Linked DNA regions of Homo sapiens: all the other regions are linked to region 3. Evidence: promoter capture Hi-C in 16 types of primary human blood cells and fetal thymus (Javierre and others, 2016). All regions are on one chromosome and are shown on one strand. Each heading gives the region's core, a stretch centred on a gene start or on the middle of the fragment in contact. The rest is flanking DNA. Distances are from core to core; before and after follow the strand shown.

Region 1 (3,509 bases), core at 874-3,373, 710 kb before region 3:
CCTTAGAAAAATCCACTCTTCCTTCCACACCCAGGCTTTGCCCTCTCCCCCTGCTTCCACTTCGGAAAGTCTGAAGCAGGCCTGGAAAGCTGTTTTCTGCTTTCTTTCCCTCTCTTCCTCCCCCTTTCCTGAGCTCCCAGCTGCTCGACCTCTTGCGTAACTGTGAGAGAGCGCTGAGTTTTTTGATGGGCTCCAGATGTGGAGCAGGGCGGAGATGGAGAGTGGGGGCGGTAGGTCTTTAGTCCCCTGAGTGCTCTAACTGTGGGAACATAGAGGCCTGACACAGCAGGGGAGAGGACACATTGCACAGCGCCTTTATCATAGGGTCAGCTGGTCCCTGTGTTGGGAGGTCAGTGAGAGAAGTTGGGTGCTGTTTCGACCCTCTGCCTCAGCATCCACTGCCTCCATGGCAGGCTTGATTATTCCCTGAAATTCCTCCTGCCCAGTACAGTAAAGAGGAGCTGGGGGCCGTGAAACAGAATGAAGTGAAAAGCCTCTGAGGTACTGCAATCTGGACCCCTCCCCTCAGTGCTGGGTCTTGGCACATGGGATACAACAGTTTGGGTTTTTTCCTTCTTCCTTTTTTTACATACCCAAATAGCCTGAATATTACTGTTGTGATCTGCCTCATGAAGGTTCATCAGAATTACTTTCATGACTTCAAACAGTATGAAGAGAGGAAAAACTAGAGTCTCGCTCCTCAAATCCTAGGACTTCCTGGTACCCACAGCATATTCTGGATCTTGAGTGTTCCACCTCCATTAGCTATAGCAGGTGGCAGCAAAGGGCGGCCTCTCCCCTCCCCCTCCTTGTCTGCTGCTTGGCCCCGGTCAGCTTCAGTCTCCAGCCGTGGGGGGTCCCCTGCTAAGGCCAGCCCTGTCAATGAGTGACCAGAGATTCCTGTAGTTCAGCCTCCTGCTGTTCCTGGGTTAGGGAGAGACGGCACAAACTAAACTCATTGAATTAGAACAGCACTTGTCCATCTCAAAGAGGATAAATTATTTTTTGCTATCCACCCCAGCTGGAATTTAGACCAGACTTACAGGCTTTCTGCTCCTTCCTTCAGTGAAGAAGAGTCTCCAGGGTCCCTCTAGTGCAGGTCAAAGAAGTCCAGTCCAGCTGAGTTCAGCTCCCTAGGGCCTCCCCAGCCAGTCTCCTGGACCAAGAGCTGGCTTTGCAAGGTAAGGATCCACTGTCAGCGTTGGATTTCGGAGTGGAGGTTGAGATGGAGAATGACTTCAACCTAGCTCAATTTGGGGGCTGCTTTTAGGTGTTTAGTGCCTCCTTCTCTTCCTTATTAACTCCCACTCCTACTACAGGTTGGTGTGCTCAATTGTATGTCTATAGCCTGCCTCCATCTCCCAATCTGTAATCCAGCAAGTCTGTCGGGGTGGAGGGGTGTGGAGCTCCATGGGGGCAAGATGATAATTCCATTCGGTTTTCCTGTGCTTTGGAGTTTGCATGACACTTTAACGAGTCTTCTTGTGCCTATCCTTAAGAAAGTCTGTGAAGCCTGATGTGCGTGGCTATCAATGTCATTTACAGCTCTTCATGGTGGGGCTTGGAATAGGGCGAGGGGAGGAGGTGACAGGGAGAAGACCTGGGTACCCTCAGTAGATGTTCTGGAGATGTTGAGAGCATGTTGTAGGGGCTTCGATTTGGGAGGTTCAGTGGGAGCCCGTGGAGGTTTCAGGCATCTAAGGCAAAAAGAAAGAGGGGAGAGTTTGGGGGAGGGAGAACGGATTGTCAAAAACACCCTCTCAAAAGCGTGTTAAAGCCTGGGAGTGGAGGGTGGTCTAGGAGAGTCGGGAGGGCAGGGTGGGAGGAGAGGGGGATGTGTGGTGGTGGTGGTGGTGGTGGTGGTGGTGGTGGTGGTGGTGGTGGTGGTGGTGGTGATGGTGGAGAGCCCAGCTGCAAAGATGAACAAAGCGGGCGCTGTGCAGGCTGGGGGAGGTGCTGCTGTGGGAAAGGGTGGGTGGGGGGACCTTGGGCTCCAGCCCCACAAGGGCGTCTTCTTTGGCTGGCCAGGCGGACGGGACGGGGGACGGGGGCGGGGACTGGCGGGAGGGGGGCGGGACAGGCTCGCTCTCCTCCTACTTAGCGAGCTCCCGGGGAAAAGCAACGGTGTCCTCCTAAGCCTGAGGCCACCGCGACCGAGCCGAGCCAGGCTAAGGGACCAGTGTCTCCCTGCCCCCCCCCCACCTCTAGGTAAGAGCGCCCCGTCCCACTACACTTGCGGGTCCCATTCGCTGCGGTGCTAGGACTGGATAAGGGGAAGTCCCCGGGGCCTGGCGAGAGCCCTGAGATCAGCTCTAGGCTAGGGAGCTCGGCAGAAACCCGTGGGGGAGAGAGGGCACCCCAGGTGAGTGCGTGGGGGCGAAAGGAGCGTTATGGGGAGTTTTCCTGTGAGCCTCTTGCTTTTGCCTTCCTCGGCCGCTGCCAACGCCACCGCCAGAGGGGGCCGTGACGCTCTCCCCCCCTTGGAGAAACTCTGATCCTGGCCCTATCCAGACTCTCCCGCCGGCACCCAGGCGGCCGGGCGGACACTCGCGGGGTATCGGGCGGCGAGCGCGCGCGCGGGTTTTCGTCCTCCAGCGCCCCACACCTCCCCCTCTCCGCCCACAGCAGGACCTTGGGGCGGGGGTATCTCCTGTGACGTCTCCCCGCCTGTCCCCAGGCCGGCCGCCTTGATGGACCAGGAAGGGATTCGGAGTCCGGCTCAGAGTCTTGAGCGTCTAGGAGGGCTGCCTGGGGGTGTCCAGGAGATGGGAAGCCCGCCTGGGGCCTCCCAGGCACTCCCCAAGGCCCCACGTCCTCGGGGGCCGGGGAGGCCGCCTGGGGCGCCTTGCCACGCCCGCGCGGTCCCTATTGGAATCCCTAGCGGAGTTCCCCGAGCGGAGGCTGACCCAAGTCATCCGGGCTCCCCCGGGATAGGGAAGTGCGGGCGGGCGGCTGGGTAGGGGCGCCGGCGCAGGGTGGCCGAGTCGCCCGCTAGCGCTTCCGCCGAGGCAGGCTCGAGTGGGGACTTGGCCGGGCGACCGCACAGCCCTGCCGGGGACCCACGGCTCTGGGGCGGGGCTGCATTCTGGGCCGTTAGCTCAGCGGTCCTGGAGCCTCCCGAGGCTGACTCATCGGGCGGCGGGCTCACCCCCCAGCCGTCAAACGCAAACGCAGGCGCCCCACCACGCCGGGCTCCCACGCGGCACACACGCACGCCTCCGCGACACTTCGCACACCTACGTCCCTGCGTCACGCCACCCAGACACACCCGGACCCGCCCACACGCCGAGGCCTTCCCACGCACTCCATGCCTTACGCCTCACAGGAAAGCGCCCCGCGCTCACGCAGCCCCTCACACCCGCAGCCCCGCTTACACGCGCCCCAGCTCACACATGCACCCCAGTCACACAGCCTACCTCACACACGCACCCCAGTCACACACACAACCCAGCTCACACACGTACCCGTCACACATGAGGCCCCAGCTCACACACGAAGCCCAGCTCACA
Region 2 (3,910 bases), core at 1,108-3,607, 530 kb before region 3:
AGCCTCCCAAGTAGCTTGGTGGGATTACAGGTCTGGCTAATTTCTGTATTTTTCAGTAGACACGGGGTGTTATCAAGTTGGCCAGGCTGGTCTTGGACTCCTAACCTCAAATGATCTGCCCGCCTTAGCCTCCTAAAGTGCTAGGATTACAGGCGAGAGCCACCGTGCCCGGCTGAAATCTTACTTTTAATTGGAGTTAATAAAAACATACAAAGACACGAAAACAAAGCCCTACTCTGTTGGCTTTTGATTTAACCCCGTTACACTTTTTTTTTTTTTTTTTTTTTGAGGCGGAGTCTCGCTCTGCCGCCCAGGTTGGAGTGCAGTGGCACAATCTTGGCTCACTGCAACCGCCGCCTCCTGGGTTCAAGCGATTCCCCTGTCTCAGCCTCCCGAGTAGCTGGGATTACAGGCGCCTGCCACCACGCGCAGCTAAATTTTTTCTATTTTTAGTAGAGACGGGGTTTTGCCATGTTGGCCAGGCTAGTATCGAACTCCTGACCTCAGCTGATCCGCCTGTCTTGGCCTCCCAAAGTGCTGGGATTACAGGTGTGAGCCACCGCTCCCAGCAACCCCGTTACATTTCTTATATAAAATACACTAGCTTACGAGTGCTGATTCTTTCTGCCATACACCAAGGCATGTGAAACTCAAAATTTTAAAGTCAACAGATCTCAACATTTATGAAGAAAATGCTCCTTGATTATGCCTTCCTTAAAAAAAAAATGAACAAGTTGCTCACAAGCAAATCCTGATTATCACATACACAAAGCTGTTTACTTCAGACTCTGACCTCTTAAGCAGATATGGTTAACAGCTACTTTCCTGTATTGACGGTTTTATATTATGATCAGCGATATCACGCAGTTCACAGAGACTTAGCTGTTTGCAGAGCACTAAGAGGATGAAAAGGGCAACCTCTAAAGACCGAACGATATCATCATTACTGTCCATCATGCACAGTAAGACCTCCTATATCCTTAAATCCAAAATGAGACTATGTGATAACTGCTCCCTTCTTAAACTGAAACCTGCACTGCAGCTTTTTCTCAGAGAAGGAAATATTCCTCCTACCCCTTCCCAATTTAGATTTGCAAGTTTTCTACATTTTCAAAAACAAAAAACAAAAAAACAAAAAACAAACAACAAGAAACGTAGACTAGTTGGGAGGAGCCCCTAGCGGAGTTAATTACAGCACTTCACAGATCGTAGTTAGCAATTGACAGTTTCACACCCAAAACAGTATCGTCATCGCCAACAAGAGCTTTTGTTTGCAAATGCAGCGCAGTTTTTCTAGCTTTGCCTGCAAGTTGGAGTGACTGGGTTTTATTCTGAAGGGAAATGGGGGCTGAGGAAGAGAAAGGAGAGAGATACGGGAAAGAGTCATTGACTAATGACTGGAACCCCGTAACTGAAAGGAAATTTCTTGTCCCCCCGCACCCCGCCCCACGCCCCAAACACACACACTTCTGACCATAAACACAAAAGGTTGGGGCTCTGCAATCTTATCTGCGCAATATGAGCCAGCAACCGCTCCATTAGTAGCAAACAATAGGGACTCCCCCAAGGAGGCCCCAAATGGACCCCCTAAACCAGAAATCCCCCTCCTTTCCTCCAAGAGTCGGGGGCTCCATAAATACCCTCTTGTTATTGACCCGCAAGGCCTACTGCAATCAAGCAGCGGCCGGTTTGCTTCTAAACCGAGCCCTCCAATACAGCATGTCCCTGCCGCCCCCTATAGGGCCGCCTCGTACCCTATAACCTCCACCATCATCCCCCTAAGTCCTTGCCGCCCCCTTCGGCCTCATATTCCCTCATCTTCGATAAAGCTACTCCGAGTACTTAGCCTGTTCCTCCTGCCGACCCTGCTGCGCACCACATTCCTATATTCGCCTCCTCTCAGGCGCTCCCACCCCACACAGCTGCCGACCGCCTTCCTCCCCAGGCCCGGCCAGGCCTTAGGCCTCCGCCCGAGAGTCCCCCAGAGCCGGCCCGGGGGGCTCCCCACAGCCCCCAAAGCACCGCTGACCTCGACCCCACCACCTCACCCCAAGCCTCGCGACTCGGGCCCGTGTCCTACCAACGAGGCCACTCCCGCTCGGCACCCTCGGTCCTTTATTGTTGACTCGAAGCTCCCAAAATGGCGGACGCTCCTTCCTCCTCGGAAACCTCCGCCCGCCCCCACCCAGCCCTCTCGCTACGGCCTCCTCTCGCCCCCGCCCCCGCCCCGCTCCGAGGGGCGCGCAGGCCAGCCGCCCGAGCCGCCGGCTCCCCCGGCTGTCCAGCCCTACCTCCTCCGCTGCCCGCTCTCGTGGCGCCGCCGAAGTCGCCGCCTGGCTGAGCTAACTCGGCTCCTCTGCCCCCTCCCTCGCTCGCCCGTTCGCCCGCCCGCCGCCTCCTCCCTCTTTCCCTGCCTCTCCGCATGGCGGCGACCGCGGCTCCTCCTCCACTCAAGATGGCGAAACCTCGGCCGCCGCGGCTATATTCGCCGCGGCGTCACTGCCTTCCTGGCCTGGTGGTGAGAGGAAGTCGGGCCGCGAAAGCTTCCTGAGGAGAAAATGGAGGGCCCTTCTCTCACACCGACGAGAAAAGTTCGAGGGGGAAATACGAGTTCCTTTCTGAAGGGACAGGACGGCTGCTTTTCCACAGCCGCGACGTGATTGAGAAATGGTGGCTGGCAAGGGTAGGCCTGCCTTCGCCCCTCCAAAGTAAAAATCGGGAGTTGAGACCAGAGGAACATCTCTTTATTACATGACTAAGGATATGTTTTGAAAACTGGCCCCCGGGCAGCTGCTCGGGGACAGGAAGCTGACCTGACTTCTCCAGCTGGCCGGGGAGGCTGATGCCGGGCCTAAGGGGCCGCGTCCGAGCCTCTCGGGGCGCGCCTCCATGCAGGAAGGCGCGGAACTAGCGACCCGGAGACGCCGGGCGCGCGTCTGAGTGTGGGGGCAGGAAGGGGGGCCGACCGGGCCCGGAGGCCGCACCAGGCAGGAGGGAGGACTCCAGAGAGTGCGCGGGGGGCGCTGCGCGGTGGGACGGGGCGAGCCTGTAGGGCGCGCCTGGCGGCGGGTAGGCTCCGGGCTTGAGGGTGCGCCTGGGGGCGCTGGTTGTGGGGGAAGGCACCGGGCTTGAGGGTGCACCTGGGCGGGGGAAGTCTTCGGGCATGAGGGCGCGCCTGCGGGTGGTATGGGGGGGTACACCGAGCTTGAGGGTGCGCCCGGGGGGCTCTCATGTGAAGGGTACCAGGCTTGAGGGCGCCCCTGCGGGGGGCGCAGAGGCACCGAGCTTGAGGGTGCGCCTCGGGGGTCTGCGGGGGGAAGGCACCGGACTTGAGCGTGCGCCGGGAGAGGACGGCGGGGGACCGGACTGTGAGGGCGTATCTTGGGGGACCTGTCTAGGAGGAACCGGGAGGTGAAGGCACAACTGGGGGTGAGGCGGGGGCAGGGGCCGGGCTGTGAGAGTGCGACTGAGGGGGGATTACTCCGGAGAGCACGGAGCTGGGGGCGTTGCGCAGGTGGAGTGGGGAGGCCTGGTGGAGAGGGTAGCAAACCGAGAGAGCGCACCGGGGTGGTGGGGGGAGAAGCTGGACTGTAAGGTGAAGAGTTAGTAGGGCGCAACCGTCTTCTCCTGCCCTCGAAGGGCAAGACTGAAGAAAGTAGGGGCGGAGGAGGCCGGGCCCTCCACTAAAGGGAGGGAAGCTAGTGAAGCGTCAGTTATAATAGAAATAGGAATTCAGTAAGGAAATGGAGAAGCTTAAGGCAAAGGGTGACTCTCCGGCCTGACCCTCACTATGAAGATATTTATGTATGTTCCCATAATACTTTTCAGATCCCAATGTCTGTGTTTATCCTTGACAGAAATAATAGAACTGCTGTCTTCTTCCAAGTTAAACAAAACTTTGGAGCTAAAA
Region 3 (3,728 bases), core at 345-2,844:
GGGCAACCTAGGCTCGGGGCCAAGAGGAAGGCCCCTTTCCTTCCAGGCCCCCTCCTCTCCGGGTGAGCTCAGAGTGTGGGAATGCAAAGCATGTGCCAGGCTGGGGCACACAGGCCCTTTTGTGTCACCACCGCCAGGGGAAGACACCACTGCTCTATCCTCTGCCCTCCAAAATCCCTGCCCTCACTCCCCAGCGGGCTAACTCTGGCGGAAGTTCCGGTCTCATGCTCCCTCAGCAGCACCTCCATGAACACTCCGCACACACCCGCGGACCCCACCCTAGGTAGCTGGTAAGGATGGAGAGGTCAGAGTCTCCCCCAGGGGTCAGGGCAAGGGCCAGGCAGTGGGCAGGAGTGACGTCAGTGGTGCCAGCGTGCTGCCAGCCCTGTGAGGAGGTGATGTCACTCGACACCATCTGCCTGGGCTCTGGGATGCCTGGGTTGTTACCTTGGCTCTCGGACAAGGAGGGCAGGTGGAAGGTGGGGTCTCCAACCCAGAGCCTCAGACCCCTGACTCCTCCCAGAGCTAGAAGAGCAGGGCAGGGTGGAGCTGGACCGGCTGCAACTGTGGAGCCCGATTTAGCCCTTTCCCCAGAAATAAAGTCAGCCTGGGAGGCAGTAGCCTGGAATACCCCAGGGACATGGTTGGCACTGGGCATGAGGCCAGCGAGCTGGGTATTGCCTAGCCCTCCCCTTCCCCAGCCGGACAGCGGCTGGGACGGCGGAATGGGAGCCAAGAGAAACACGCGACACCGCTGCGGGCCATACAAGGGCAGCGTGGACCCGAGAGCGCCCTGCTACCAGGCGGATCCGGAGAAACGCTCCGAGGTGCCCGGGCGCACTTCCCACCTGAATGTGGTCCCCAAAATAAGCCAGCGGGCGCTTCCAGTATGGGAATCCTCCATCCCTCATCTCTGTCCCCTATGATCCCATCACTCGGGGAGGCGCGAGGCGACCCACACCGCCCCGCAACCCCTGCCAACGCCCAGCTCGGGCGGGAGCCGCCGAACCTCCCGCTCTCGCTCACCTCCAGCCTGGCGTGATGCCCAGGCAGAAGGGGGAAGGGGTGGGTCGGCGCACCCCCTCCAGCGAAGGAAGCTGCCTTTTCCAGCAACAGGCGGGCGCGGAATTCAGGCTTTGAGGATGCGCCCCAGCTGCGCCTCCTGCCCGGCTTCAATTGCGGGCCCCCAGAGTGAGCACCTCAGGGACCACCCACCCCCCAGCACCCCGAAAGGCTGAGCTCCACCCCTTCTCGTTCCCAGAAGCAGCCTCCTCCCCGCCTTCCGAGTGCTGCTCCCGGGATACTCTAGAATCCCGGCTGCAAACTGGCTGCAAAGAAGAGTTGCTCGCGCGCAAGGCGCCCGGGGATCGGGGACCCAGGGAGGAGGCTCGTCCTCCCAGACGCAACGCCCCGACCCCGCCGCGCCGCTGGCTCTGCTCCCTGGCACGCTCCACCGCAGACCCCTAGCCGGGGCGCGGCCCCCCTGCGAGCGAACTCACCCGCGACGCGAGGACAGCAGCAGCAGGCGGCGAGCAAGAAGGCGCAGACCAGCCTGGGAAGCCCCATGCTTCCCGGCCGGAGGGCGAGAGCCAAGTGAGCAGCTCGAGGCTGCCGGGGGCTGACGTCAGGGGGGCGGGGGAGGGGGCCCGGAGCGCCCGGGCCCGCCCCGCCCCGCGCAGCCCCCAGCCCCCGCCCCGCGCGCCGCAGCCCTAGGGGGCGGGCCCCGGCGCCGCCAGCCCGGGAGCTGCGCCTAGGAGCGCTGCCGGAGGTAGGCCAGAGCCGGACTCCCAGGCTCCTGGCTTGGGAAGGCTGAGGGGGTAGTGACAGGTGTCTCGGGGTCTGACTGGCCGAGGTGGCAGCGAGGAGAAGCTGTCCCGGATGCCCGGAGTCGCCCCGGGTCGAAGCCAGCCAGGCTCACCGCTGCTCAGCCCCTGCCAGCCAATGTAGCCCCTAGGGGACCTCCTGGGGGAGGAGCAGTAGCGGACCTGGTCCTCGGTGTCCCCAAGGGGCCTCCCACTTGGGCTCCCCTCCCTTGCCACAGAGAATTCAGGCCGGCCTCTATCGCTTCCCAGAACGATTGCACCACTGCCGCTGCCGCCGGCCTGACACTGCCTCAGCCTCAGTGCTGGCAGCTTTGGGAGAAGAACCCTGCGCCAGTCCCACAGACCCAGAAGTACCTGTATGGGGAGTGCAGACGATGCCTTCTGGGCTGTCCCTTCAAACGCAAGCTCCTGCAAGTCTAGCCTTTGACCAGAGAAAGGAAGGAGGGGGCTGAATTCGCAGGCCCAAGGTGTTCACACTTGTCCAGACCTGGGCCTTGAGAATCATGTTTCTTCCCTCTTCACTCTGGAGCCTACCCTGGAACTCAGTTTCCCCTCACCTAAGAGAAAGAAACAGGGAGAAGAAAGAGTTAATGGGCGAGGGTCCCCAGCCTGACCCTGCAAACCTGTTGCTGTTCCTGATGATTGAAAGGATCCCGGCAGCGCTGATCTTCCCCCACCCCATGTCTTCCCCAGCCCTATTGATTGTGGGTCCATAGCTGAGGGAAGAATCAAATCAGACCTGCTTGGGTGGGGAGCTCTGCAGCTCCCCTTCTCCCAAAACGCCGGCTTCTCCCTGGGTCTTCTGGCCTCTTGAACTAAGGCTCTAGGGAGGGGGAGGTGCTCTTGCCTCACTCTGACCCCAGCAGCCTGGCCTCAGAAAAGGGGTCCACATCTGCTGGCGCGCCTCCACCAGGGAGTGCCAAATAGGGGCCTGGATTTGGGTAGAGGTCTGTTGCCCAGCGGGGCCACCCCTTTGCTCGCTGGGGGAGGTGGAGGGTGAGCCAGCAAACCCTGGAGATGGCCAGGTGACTTGAGAGCATGCTCCGGGGTGGCGTTTTGATGACGCAGAGATGACTGGAAAACCACACCAGGCTTGTCTTTCAGAGCCTTCTCGACCCCTCCTCCAATGCCATTAGTCTCCAGCCAGAGGCTGTGCAGAGCCCAGGCCCACCGGGCCAGGGGCCTGGAGCCTGGAGCCTGCAGGGAGAACAAGAGGAGGACGCTGGCTCGCCCTCCAGAGTGAATGTATGGACTGGCCCCAGGCCCAGAGCTGACTAGATGAGAATGTTTTGTCTGCTGGGCTGGAGTGGGAATGGCTGAAGGATGCCGTTTGCCCTGGCAGGCCCGGCTGGGCATGGAGCTGGCTTCCCTGCCCAACCCCCTTCCTTCACTTAACACCATTAACTAATCATTCGCCTCTCTGGCCTGAAAACAAAGCCAGCTAACCACCAAGGACAGTCAGTTCTGAATTCTTCTTCCGCTGGAGGAGAGTGAAGCCAGGTGGGGGTGGAGGATTTGTCTCTGCGGTGAAAGGGAAATGAGGTCAGAGCCTAGAGCCCAGGGTGACGTCCCTTCGCATTGCCCCACCAAACAAGCACAGAAGACTGTCCTTTAAGGAAGCCAGTAGCCTGGGGCTGTCTAGGCTGCTCGGAAGTGGGTCATAGCCTCAGGGGACAGATAGCTTTGGGATGGTTTCATGAGGTGGGCACTTTGGGATTCCAAACTAAAGACGGGTCAGGACCTCGGAAAGGACGCAGGAGTGGAGGCAGGGAGCAGGGTGGAGGGAGCGGAAGGTGAAGGGGATCAGCCCTCAGCTCTTCTTAGAGGCCAGAGGCTAGTGCTCCGGCAGCCCCAGGGGAGAGAAGGTGGCTGCGGGACTTCCAGCAGGACAGGAGTGACAGCCAG

The links. Contacts are between HindIII fragments. The CHiCAGO score rates a contact against its expected background, and 5 or more counts as called.
Region 1: a contact is called between the fragment with the promoter of PHLDB1 here and the fragment with the promoter of MCAM in region 3, in 2 of 17 cell types (fetal thymus and total CD8 T cells). The highest score is 8.3, in fetal thymus.
Region 2: a contact is called between the fragment with the promoter of DDX6 here and the fragment with the promoter of MCAM in region 3, in 2 of 17 cell types (neutrophils and fetal thymus). The highest score is 7.6, in neutrophils.

Annotation. Positions count from the first base shown.
Region 1 is chr11:118,605,492-118,609,000 of GRCh38, forward strand. It overlaps PHLDB1 (pleckstrin homology like domain family B member 1), which reads left to right and starts at 2,124. Exons shown (of 23, transcript NM_001144758.3): 1 at 2,124-2,208. LOC124902765 (a long non-coding RNA gene) reads right to left here and starts at 3,020. Exons shown (of 2, transcript XR_007062908.1): 1 at 2,632-3,020; 2 at 1-1,697. RefSeq lists silencers at 2,616-2,705, 2,766-2,835 and enhancers at 2,963-3,257, 3,295-3,509. The HindIII fragment of the contact is 8,144 bases long and covers 1-3,509 here.
Region 2 is chr11:118,788,807-118,792,716 of GRCh38, forward strand. DDX6 (DEAD-box helicase 6) reads right to left here and starts at 2,358. Exons shown (of 14, transcript NM_004397.6): 1 at 2,292-2,358. RefSeq lists enhancers at 958-1,515, 974-1,153, 2,464-2,573, 3,190-3,745 and silencers at 1,354-1,433, 2,064-2,393, 2,844-3,133. The HindIII fragment of the contact is 4,863 bases long and covers 1-2,541 here.
Region 3 is chr11:119,315,536-119,319,263 of GRCh38, forward strand. It overlaps MCAM (melanoma cell adhesion molecule), which reads right to left and starts at 1,595. Exons shown (of 16, transcript NM_006500.3): 1 at 1,500-1,595. The coding sequence starts at 1,566. RefSeq lists enhancers at 1-281, 3,175-3,224 and a silencer at 1,874-1,933. The HindIII fragment of the contact is 17,882 bases long and covers 1-3,728 here.